Linked DNA regions of Homo sapiens: region 2 is linked to region 1. Evidence: promoter capture Hi-C in human tissues and cell types (Jung and others, 2019). All regions are on one chromosome and are shown on one strand. Each heading gives the region's core, a stretch centred on a gene start or on the middle of the fragment in contact. The rest is flanking DNA. Distances are from core to core; before and after follow the strand shown.

What was found. The method cuts DNA at HindIII sites, captures the fragments that hold promoters and counts their contacts. A contact is called where the count stands out against the background at its distance.
Region 2: a contact is called between a fragment that was not itself captured here and the fragment with the promoter of OR5H2 in region 1, in 2 of the 25 tissues and cell types used here (ovary and stomach).

The regions. Positions count from the first base shown.
Region 1 is chr3:98,280,151-98,285,929 of GRCh38, forward strand. It overlaps OR5H2 (olfactory receptor family 5 subfamily H member 2), which reads left to right and starts at 2,355. Exons shown (of 1, transcript NM_001005482.2): 1 at 2,355-3,920. The coding sequence starts at 2,753. The coding sequence ends at 3,682. All of the region lies in intron 1 of LOC105373999 (a long non-coding RNA gene), which reads right to left. The HindIII fragment of the contact is 8,138 bases long and covers 1-5,779 here.
Region 2 is chr3:98,220,610-98,226,039 of GRCh38, forward strand. It overlaps the pseudogene OR5H4P. Among named protein-coding and RNA genes, the nearest start is that of OR5H6, 41 kb to the right of the region's middle. The HindIII fragment of the contact is 3,420 bases long and covers 2,236-5,430 here.

The DNA.
Region 1 (5,779 bases), core at 1,105-3,604:
TGTTTATGTCCATGTGTGTTCAATGTTTAGCCCCACTTGTAAATAAGAACGTGTGTCATTTGGTTTTCTGCTCCTGTGTCGGTTTGCTTTGGATTATGGCCTCCAACTGCATCCATGCTGCTGCAAAGTACATGATCTCATTCTTTGTTATGGCTGAGTAGTATTCCATCTTGTATATGTACCACATTTTAAAAATCCAATCCACCCCTGCTGGACACCTAGATTGATTCCATGTGTTTACCATTGTGAATAGTGTAGCAATGAACATAGGAGTGCATGTGACTTTAACAACAAAGACAGCATGGTATTGTTACAAAAACAGACACATAGACCAATGGAACAGAGTAGCAAACTCAGAAATTAAGCCACACGCTTGGAATAATCTGATCTTCAACAAGGCTGACAAAAAACAAGCAACAGAGAAAGGATACCCTATTCAGTAAACGGTGCTGTCATGGCGGCTAGCCATATGTGGAAGAATGAAACTGAATCCTTTCCTTTCATCATACACAAAAATTTATTCAAGATGGATTAAATATTTAAATGTAAGACTTCAAAATGTAAAAATCCTAGACGAAAACCTAGGAAGTATTCTTCTCAACATCAGCCTTAGCAAAGAATTTTCGGCTAAGTCCTCAGAAGCAATTGCAATGAAAACAAAAATTGACAAGTGTGACCTAATTAAGGTAAAGAACTTCTGCACAGCAAAAGAAATCATCAATAGAGTACACAGACAACCTACAGAATGACAGAAAATATTTGCAAACTATGCATCCAATAAAGGTCTAATATCAGAATCTATAAGGAACTTAAACAAATCAGCAAGCAAAAAAATGTAACCCTATTAACAAATAAGCAAAGGACATGAACAGATCCTTCTCCAAAGAAGACATACAGGCAGTCAACACACATAAAAAAGAAATGCTCATCATTAATCATCAGAGGAATGCAAATCAAAATCACAATGAGATACCATTTCACACCAGTCATAATGGCTATTATTAAAAAACAAAACATGCTGATGAGGCTGTGGAGAAAAGGAAAGGCTTATACACTGTTGGTGGAAATACTTTAGTTCAGCCACTGTGGAAAGCAGCCTGGAGATTTCTCAACAATTTGAAACAAAGCTACCATTTGACCCAACAATCCCATTACTGGGTATATACCCAAAGGAAATTAGGTCATTATACTATCAAGTATTTTTGGTGCTATGCTTTTCTTTTCTTAATGTACTCTCCAATAGGTAAGACATCCATTACTATGCCTTCAACTACTCCAGTGACTCCCAAGTTATTTCTATCACTCTAGTAGAATTGTATTACTAATACCAAACATCTCACCTACATATTCAAGGCATGCTCACACTGCAAACTTGTCAATGCCCCTGAGTTCTCAGTCTCTATTTTGAATGACAATCTACCTACTCACAAAGTGACTCCTTTTTCCTTCACTGAATACTACTTTTCTATCAAATATGTGACTAAGTCCTAGTGACACTACTTTCTGAATGCTTTAGAATCTATTTCTTCATCCTCATTATTTGCAAGATTATAATACACATGGACTAGGCACTTGCAAACTTAAAATTCAAAGCCCCCCATCAACAGAACGAACCCCCTCTTGGCCAAAAGTTCTCCAGAAAAACTGTAAAAACTTAGTTCTCAGCCATGACAGGGTGGGAAGTCAGATGTGCCTTGTTATACTTCCTCTCTTTTGCAATTTAGACATGACAACTGACCGGTATTAATGTTAAGATAGAGATTATAAGACTGACAGAACATATTCTTTGTGACAATAAGATTCCAAATTATAAACAGAACCTAAGGCCACACCAGGCAAGGTTTAAGTCAGGCACCTCTACACTTAAAGAATAAACTGTGTTCTAACTGCCACAAGGTTTTTCTTTTTCTCTAGTAGCTAAACAGGCACTGGCCTCAAGACAAGCAGGATTAAAACAATTTGCAGCTGCACCAGATGCTCAGTAACTGAACCCCTGCTACCAGACATAACTACAGCTTTGATTGGACAAGAGACTGATGTCAGTAACTTTCTCCAGATAAGAGGAAAACTGACCACGGACTGGTTCTGGCTGGTTTACAGAGACAGTGCATTTATGGGCCTTCATGTCCTGAGAAGACCTTTTGATGTATAGGGCCTAACTGTAACAAATTTAAATGTTAAGTCTCCACTCCAATGTGAACATGGGTTGTATGTTACATACATGTTCAATATGCATGTGCCAAGGCTACCTTCATGAATACTCATAGATCCTCCCGTAACCTGTTGAATATGTATATTTAGCCAACTTATTTAGCCTAAAGCTCCTACCTCAAGCCCTCCTCCTTTGATGTGCCTGTTTCTGGTCTTGGCCAGAGGCATGCTTCCCAGCACACTTGATGGCCACCTTGCAGGCTGTAACCCCTTATAAGAAATAAGTCTTCTCTCCTTTTCTAAATTTACAAATAGTGATTTTCTTAAGTTAACACACATTACATGCATTTCTATCATCTGCATTTTAAAAGTAGATTATTTGATCACATTTTTAGAATTAAAATAATTGCATTTATTTTGATTTCTTATATTTCCCAAAACAGTTTCCATCTATTACAGGAATATGAAAGAAAATTAAAAGGGTATTGTAATAAGAGTATGTTTTTCTATCAACTTCCCTCCCCCAGTATTTGCTGTATAAGTCTTAGTGAATGCTCTTTTACATTTACTGCATTTCATTTCAGGGATGTCGAATGAGGACATGGAACAGGATAATACAACATTGCTGACAGAGTTTGTTCTCACAGGACTTACATATCAGCCAGAGTGGAAAATGCCCCTGTTCTTGGTGTTCTTGGTGATCTATCTCATCACTATTGTGTGGAACCTTGGTCTGATTGCTCTTATCTGGAATGACCCACAACTTCACATCCCCATGTACTTTTTTCTTGGGAGTTTAGCCTTTGTTGATGCTTGGATATCTTCCACAGTAACTCCCAAAATGTTGGTTAATTTCTTGGCCAAAAACAGGATGATATCTCTGTCTGAATGCATGATTCAATTTTTTTCCTTTGCATTTGGTGGAACTACAGAATGTTTTCTCTTGGCAACAATGGCATATGATCGCTATGTAGCCATATGCAAACCTTTACTATATCCAGTGATTATGAACAATTCACTATGCATACGGCTGTTAGCCTTCTCATTTTTAGGTGGCTTCCTCCATGCCTTAATTCATGAAGTCCTTATATTCAGATTAACCTTCTGCAATTCTAACATAATACATCATTTTTACTGTGATATTATACCACTGTTTATGATTTCCTGTACTGACCCTTCTATTAATTTTCTAATGGTTTTTATTTTGTCTGGCTCAATTCAGGTATTCACCATTGTGACAGTTCTTAATTCTTACACATTTGCTCTTTTCACAATCCTAAAAAAGAAGTCTGTTAGAGGCGTAAGGAAAGCCTTTTCCACCTGTGGAGCCCATCTCTTATCTGTCTCTTTATATTATGGCCCACTTATCTTCATGTATTTGCGCCCTGCATCTCCACAAGCAGATGACCAAGATATGATAGACTCTGTCTTTTATACAATCATAATTCCTTTGCTAAATCCCATTATCTACAGTCTGAGAAATAAACAAGTAATAGATTCATTCACAAAAATGGTAAAAAGAAATGTTTAGATTTCATAGTGATATCTCTCATTTTCAGTAAAAAGAATTTTGCAGTTAGATAAGGTGTTTTGCTAAGTGTTCAAAGTTATTGTAAATATAATTGTTTTAGCATTTTAATGACTTAGGGTTTTATACCTAATAAACTCCTTAAAATATTTATATATGTTATTCAAAAGCATCCAAGGAATTTTAACCTGGTGTTCATGTTATATTAGATAATTAAAGCAGAAAACAAATGAAAACATTTATAGGTTAAATACTCTTCATGTGGCTTTATAAATGCCTTAAGTGTTAAAGCACTGTAGTTCCTCTCAAAAGTATTTGAGTAGGAAATATAATACAGCTGACAGAATTGTATAGTGTGGAAACATCACATTTAACTGGATTGTGGTGGCAGATTTGTGTTTGGTTGAGCCGATAAAGATCTCAGGAATCAGCTGTCCCTCAAAAGGTCTTTTACTCTAGATTATGGAATTGGCAAACTTCACTTCTTATAAGAATTTAACTCATATATCACTTGAAGCAATAAATAGAATGGGAAATGCAATCATAAAATGAGAAGTGAGTTAAAACCGTCAATGCAAGGCCAAACTCTAAGAGGGTACTTTTATCTCTATTCCTTTCTATGAGTAATAAGAAAAGGCAACTTGCCTCTCTTTATTGACGATGCCTTCAGAGGCCTTTTACAGTTGTATTTGTATGACACTGGAAAACATGAAAAGATTCATATTGCTAACGAATTCAGAAAGCTAATAGATAATTTAAAAATTAAGTTAGCATGGATGTAGAGAAGAAAAATGCCAGAATAGAAAGTAAATGGTATCAATTTTTCTAGCATTAAAAAAATGAAAACAATAAGAAAAGGAAATCAGTAATATTTCCATAATTATTAGCATTTGTTATGGATAAAAAGTGGCCTTAAATGCATATTGCCAAAGATCAAATAATGCTAAAATGATATGATCTCATCGTGTCCAGTGGGTGGCTGCGAAAGGTGTGAAAATAAGCAAGAGTATGGATGTTTTGTGACTCAAAAGTCCTTACATTTTAGCTTTCCTCACACTACATCCTCTTGCTGTATTATGAGTAATCCATCTTCAGGTCACCCCTACTCTTCCTCTTTCAACACTAAAATTTCATCTATATTCCTATGTATATCATTTCATCACATTCCCATTTATATCACCCAGGTCCCCAACCTGAAACAACTCACCTGTCTGTTTTGCAAGACTCTAGTTAGTATCTCCCTTATCCTTTTATAGTCTCTTATTTCCTAAACAATGCTGCCATATAATTTGTGCATTTAAGTTTAATTAATTCATGTCCTACTTAATTACCTTTTAATGGATTGTCATTGCTAGCAGATTATATGCATATGTGGTACATATATCTATATATGAATATATACATATGGATATGTTTGTTTATATGTCTGTACAGATTGTATAATATGCATATATATGCCTCAGCTAGTATTTATTCACCCTGAATTATTTGAGATCTTTTGCAAAAAAACTTCTTGGTTTAACTCTGGAGACTCTTCCTCCACAATTATCTTGATGGAACCTGTGTTGCAGCCAAAGTGAGTTACCAGGAGACTTCTGTACACTCCTTACTCTGTCAGGTGCATGTTTTCGTTCATATAGCTCTCTCCACAGAGAATCCCTACTACTGCAACTCACCTCTAAGTCACTTGCAATTGAAATGATAACTTTCTTCAAGGTGTGTATGAAATGTTACCATTTTATAAAGCTTTCATCCACAAAGCTTTTTCTGCCTACCTGGAAGTGGATGGGGGTGTTCACTCATTTAAAACAATTAGCACTTTATTTATGCTTCTTTTAAAAAAAATTCAACTTTTAAGTTCAGGGATGCAGGATGTGCAGGTTTGTTACATAGGTAAATGTGTGCCATGGTGGTTTGCTGTACAGATCATCCTATCACCCAGGTATTAAGCCCAGCATCCGTCAGCTATTCTTTCTGACCCCCTCTCTCCTCCCACCAACCACCCTTCAACAGGTCCCAGTGTGTGTTGTTCCTTGCCATATGTCCATGTATTCTCATGATTCAGCTTCCACTTATAAGTGAGGACATGCAATATTTGAT
Region 2 (5,430 bases), core at 2,696-5,195, 58 kb before region 1:
CACTGTAAATGTTTTTACTGTGGATGAAAGATGCGTTAGGTGGAGTCCTAGTATTTCTGCCTTGGCTGACTTTGCAAAGAAAATCTGCCTTTGTTCCTAAACTATTTTCTCCCTCTTTCTCCATATTCCAAATGTAGCATGAGTGTGTTTCATTGGCCATCCTAGATCATGTCTCTTCACTCTAGAAGCAAGAAGAATGGGAAAATGAGTTTCTAGTTCTTTGGCTTTTAGAACAGTAGGTAACCTCTGACAGCCGCCAAGACTTGGGTGGCAAAAAAGAGGATCAGCTTTTGGCCATCTTCTAAAGGATGCATATCCACTTTGTTACCTCTTTTAATATAATTTCCTTAAGTTTATTTTCTTGTCATTCTTTTTTTTACTTGTCTAATCTCCAATGGATACATCATTTTTAACTATGTCTTTGACTACCACAATGATTCCAAGTAATTATTTCTATGAAGCTATAGTAGGTTCACATTACTGATTGGATGTCACCTAATTGGTCACATGATGCTCACTCCAAAACTTGCCAGCGCAACTGAGTTCCCATCCTCAATATTTAATGACCACTTACCCAGTCACCAAGTGACTCTTCCCTCCTTCATTAACCACTTTTTTTTCTCACCAAATATGTCACAGAATACTAGGGACTCTACATTCTGAATTCTTTTGAATCTATTTCTTTGACTTACCATCTCCTCCAATGACATCACATGGACTAGACCCTTAATATGCTTTTGAATCGCTTTGAGGGTATTTTCAAAATGCAGATCCCTAGACTCTGTTTCTGAAATAATTTCCACATTAAAACCTTGCAATCTGTATTTTTCATAGAAAAAACACTGCTAGGTGATTCTCATGTGTAATCTGATTTGGGATCACCTTGACTTTAGTAACAAGTTTTTGGTTAATATCCATGAGTCAGTTTCCCCTTCCTGTAGCACATTTTCTACACTATCAATCACTAAATTAAAAAATATGTTATGATGCCATTTCCCATCTTAAAACATTTGGTGCATGCTTATTATGTGAAGAGTGAAGTTTAAGATTTTTCACATGGCATTCATTTTATTTATTTTTAATCCAAAACCTTCAAAATCCTTTTCCATTAACATTGCATCCATGTACCAGACACAGGATATTTATGCCACATTCCATAGTGCACACACAAATTTAGTATATGTAGAGAATCCATCTTTTTAATCTAAATCTATTAATTCCTGAAAAATTGTCAAACTAAAATTTATCATTTTTTATTTCTTTAATGCCTCAAATGTATATTCATCAACTATAGCACTGATAAATAAACTTAGGAAACCTCTGATAATTGTACAGTTTATTTCAACACCTCTTCTTCCATTTCAACTCATAATACCACTGCAAATTTTCTTTCACATTTATTGCATTTTATTTTAGAGGACATGCAGTGATGACATGGAAGAGGAAAATGCAACATTACTGACAGAATTTGTTCTCACAGGATTTTTATGTCAACAAGGATTTTTATGGGAAATACCCCTGTTCCTGGCATTCTTGGTAATAGATCTCATCACCATCATGGGGAATCTTGGTCTGATTTTTCTCATCTGGAAAGACCCTCACCTTCATATTTCAATGTACTTATTCCTTGGGAGTTTAGCTTTTGTGGATACTTGGTTATCATCCACAGTGACTCCGAAGATGCTGATCAACTTCTTAGCTAAGAGTAAGATGATATCTCTCTCTGAATGCATGGTACAATTTTTTTTCCCTTGCAATCAGTGTAACCACAGAATGTTTTATCTCGGCATCAATGGCATATGATCGCTATGCAGACATATGCAAACCTTTACTTTATCCAGTCATTATGACCAATGAACTATGCATCTGGCTATTTGTCTTGTCATTTCTAGGTGGCCTTTTTCATGCTTTAATCCATGAAGGTTTTTTATTCAGACTAACCTTCTGTAACTCCAACATGATACAACATTTTTACTGTGACATTATCCCATTGTTAAAGATTTCATGTACTGATTCTTGTATTAATTTTCTAATGTTTTTTATTTTCTCAGGTTCAATTCAAGTTTTAACCATTGGGATTGTTTTTGTATCTTATATGTTTGTTCTCTTTACAATCTTAAAAAAGAAGTCTAACAAAGGCATAAGGGAAGCCTTTTCCACCTGTGGAGCCCATTACATACCTCTCTCTTTATGTTATGGCCTCCTTCTCTTCATGTATGTGGGCCCTGCAGCTCCACAAGCAGATAATCAAGATATGATGGAGTATCTATTTTACCCTATCATTGTGCGTTTGTTAAACCATATTACTACAGCCTGAGAAATAAGCAATAATAGGTTCACTCACAAAAATGTTAAAATAAAATATTTGCATTGCATACTTATCTCTCTTCTCTATTCAATAAAATAGTTACAAAATTATGCTAGTTTGAGGTACCTAAGTTTTTGCCAACTTTCAAATTTTTTTGTAATTATAACTGTCCTAGCACTATAATGACTTAACATGTTAGAACCTAATTAACTAATTAAAATATTCCTATATGTTATGCAAAAGCATTCAAGAAATTTTAATCATGTCATAATGACAGCAGAAAGCAAATAAAAATATTTTATAGATTGTATGTTAATCAATATGTCTTTATCAATGTATTAAACGCTAAAATTATCTAGTTCATCTGATAAGGACTTGAGTGTGATGCTTTTGATACTATTACAACTATATTGCCTGAGACGCCCATCACATTTAACTCATAGTGGAGGCAAATTTGTGTTTGTGTGAAGAGAGGTAAATCCCAATAATTCTGCTAGTCCTCAAAAGGACTTTCATTTCACTTTTGGGAAAGGGTGAATTCCACTTCTTGTATGAAATCAACTCACATTTCCAGTAAAGAAATAAACTGAAATTGAAACACAATTAGAAATAAAATGAGAAAGGTGTTAACAGGTGTAAGAGAATGCTGTTAACTCATTGTGCTTATATGAGCAGGAAAAGAAAAGCTGCCCCTAACTTTCTATATTTGCTTCTAACTTCCTTTCTAGCATGTTTATGTTTTAGACAATCTGAAACTCTTCCCTAATTCAGAAAATTAAAAGGTTAAATAGAAGAACTAATATGAAGTAGGCATAGAGAAGAAAAGATAAGTGGCGTAATGGGAAGAAAATGGTCTTAATCTTCCTAGAAAAAAAATGAAGCTACTAAGATTTTTTAAAGAAAAAGTCATAATACAAAGTTACTGGAATGTGTTCTTGACAACCCGGGGCTTTAAATTCACATCACCAAAGTTCAAATAATGTTAAGATGATATGACATCACAGTGCCCAGTGAGTAGAGGGAAAAAGATGGACATGAGAAAGAGTTTGGATATTTTCTGCCTCAAAAAGTCTTTGATTGTTAGCCTTCTTCACACTTCATACTCTTGAATATATGAGTCATTCATCGACCATTCCACTCTGTCAAAAGATGAAGATGTTTAGACGCCAAAATTCCTTTCACATTCTTACTGATACCACTGAGGCCCTTACTCTAACAACTATTCACATATTGTTTTGGAAACCTCTAGTTACTTATTTCCTCCATCCTCTAGCACTCACTTACTTCCCCAACATTGCTGTCAGATTGTTTTTTGCAAACAAAACTCTAATGAGTTATATCTCTTTTCAGTGCCTCTTGTTGGATTGTCGTTGATACCTGATTATATGCATGTATGTTTCAGGTATCAATATCTATGCACATGTTTATTTTTTATGTGTATGTAGAGTCATGTAATATATATACATAGATACATATATAGTTAAAATATGAATGTAGTGGCACTAGAATTTAGTGGTTATTTGAGGAGATGGTGATGTATTTTGCAACATGAGACTGCATGTGGTTTGGGGCTTTTTGAAGGGGCAAGAGAGGAGATGAAGGTTCTTTTTTTTAATTATACTTTAAGTTCTAGGGTACATGTGCACAACGTGCAGGTTTGTTACACATGTATACATGTGCCATGTTGGTGTGCTGCACCCATTAACTCGTCATTTACATCAGGTATATCTCCGAATGCTATTCCTCCCCCCTCCTCCCACCCCACAACAGGCCCCGGTGTGTGATATTCCCCTTCCTGTGTCCAAGTGTTCTCATTGTTCAATTCCCACCTATGAGTGAGAACATGTGAGATGAAGGCTCTTATAAGGTGAATGCAGAAGGAATGCAAAAAGAAATATTTTATTGGTTAAAGTGGAGCAGTAGCATTATTTCACTCCAGTGAAAAGTCCCTAGTTAGGGGTGAGTTGGCATTTTCTGGTTGTTTAAATTTAACTTTTGTTTTACCTTTTACACTGAATTGCATTTCTGTTTGCTTAGACAGGAACCCACTTTGCTGGAGCCACTTCATCCTAAGGAACTTTTACTTAATGATATTAATTATTTTTTCCCTTTTGGTCAGCCTCCCTCTCAGTTATGAATTATTGACAGAAACTCAAGCACACAGGCCGCTTTTTCTGGTTTGTCTCTGTCTCAGCATAGAACTCATAAGTTATAATTTCTAGTCTCTTAAGGAAGCTTCTTTTTCAGTTATTTTTTATTTATTTATTTTTTAAATATTTTATTTATTTTCTTTTTTTGCCGTTCTAATCACAGTGAGAAAACCTGGCATACTTTGATGGCTATAAGACTACTGAGAAAATACAGCATACCAGGAAGATTACAGTGATGACTATCACAAGGAAAACAACAAGGTACTGGTATATACTCGATAGCCAAAGTGCCAGTGAACCAAACCAACAGAAATAAACCAAATAAAAAGAAAAGGTTAATGGTTATAACAATCTGTGAATTTAGTATTGAGCCCAGAGAGCAGTTAGTTGAGAAGATTTTTAGATTTAAGCTCAAAGCAACTTTAGATGATGAAATAAAATGGTAGTTGCAATCTAATGATTTTTCTGGTTAGTAATCTGAATGTCTCTGTTTATGTCAGGTATGTCCAATGTCTTAGCTTCCATGGGCCATATTGGAAGAAGAATAATTGTCTTGGGCCACACATAAAATACATTAACACTAATGATAGCTAAAAAATGATGAGCTAAAAAAATCACAAAAAAATTCATAATATTTTAAGAAAGTTTATTAATTTGTGTTGGGCCACATTCAAAGCCATCTTTGGCTGCATGCAGCCTGTGGGCCACATGTTGGACAAGCTTAGTTTATGTCATTGGATGTTTTGGTGAACTTCCTTAGCAGCCCACACAGCAGCATGCATGAAGATTGTCCTCTGAAGTTTATATCAAGTTGCCCAGCCCTAGCTTGCAGGGCTTCAGGAATAGGGCAGTTTATAGGTAGATAATAAAACCTCAAAGACAATGGACAGAACAAGAAGTTAATAATGGGTGCATTACAGTTATCTACTGAAACATAAATCTTCCCTCTATAGTCACACCCATTTCTTTCAA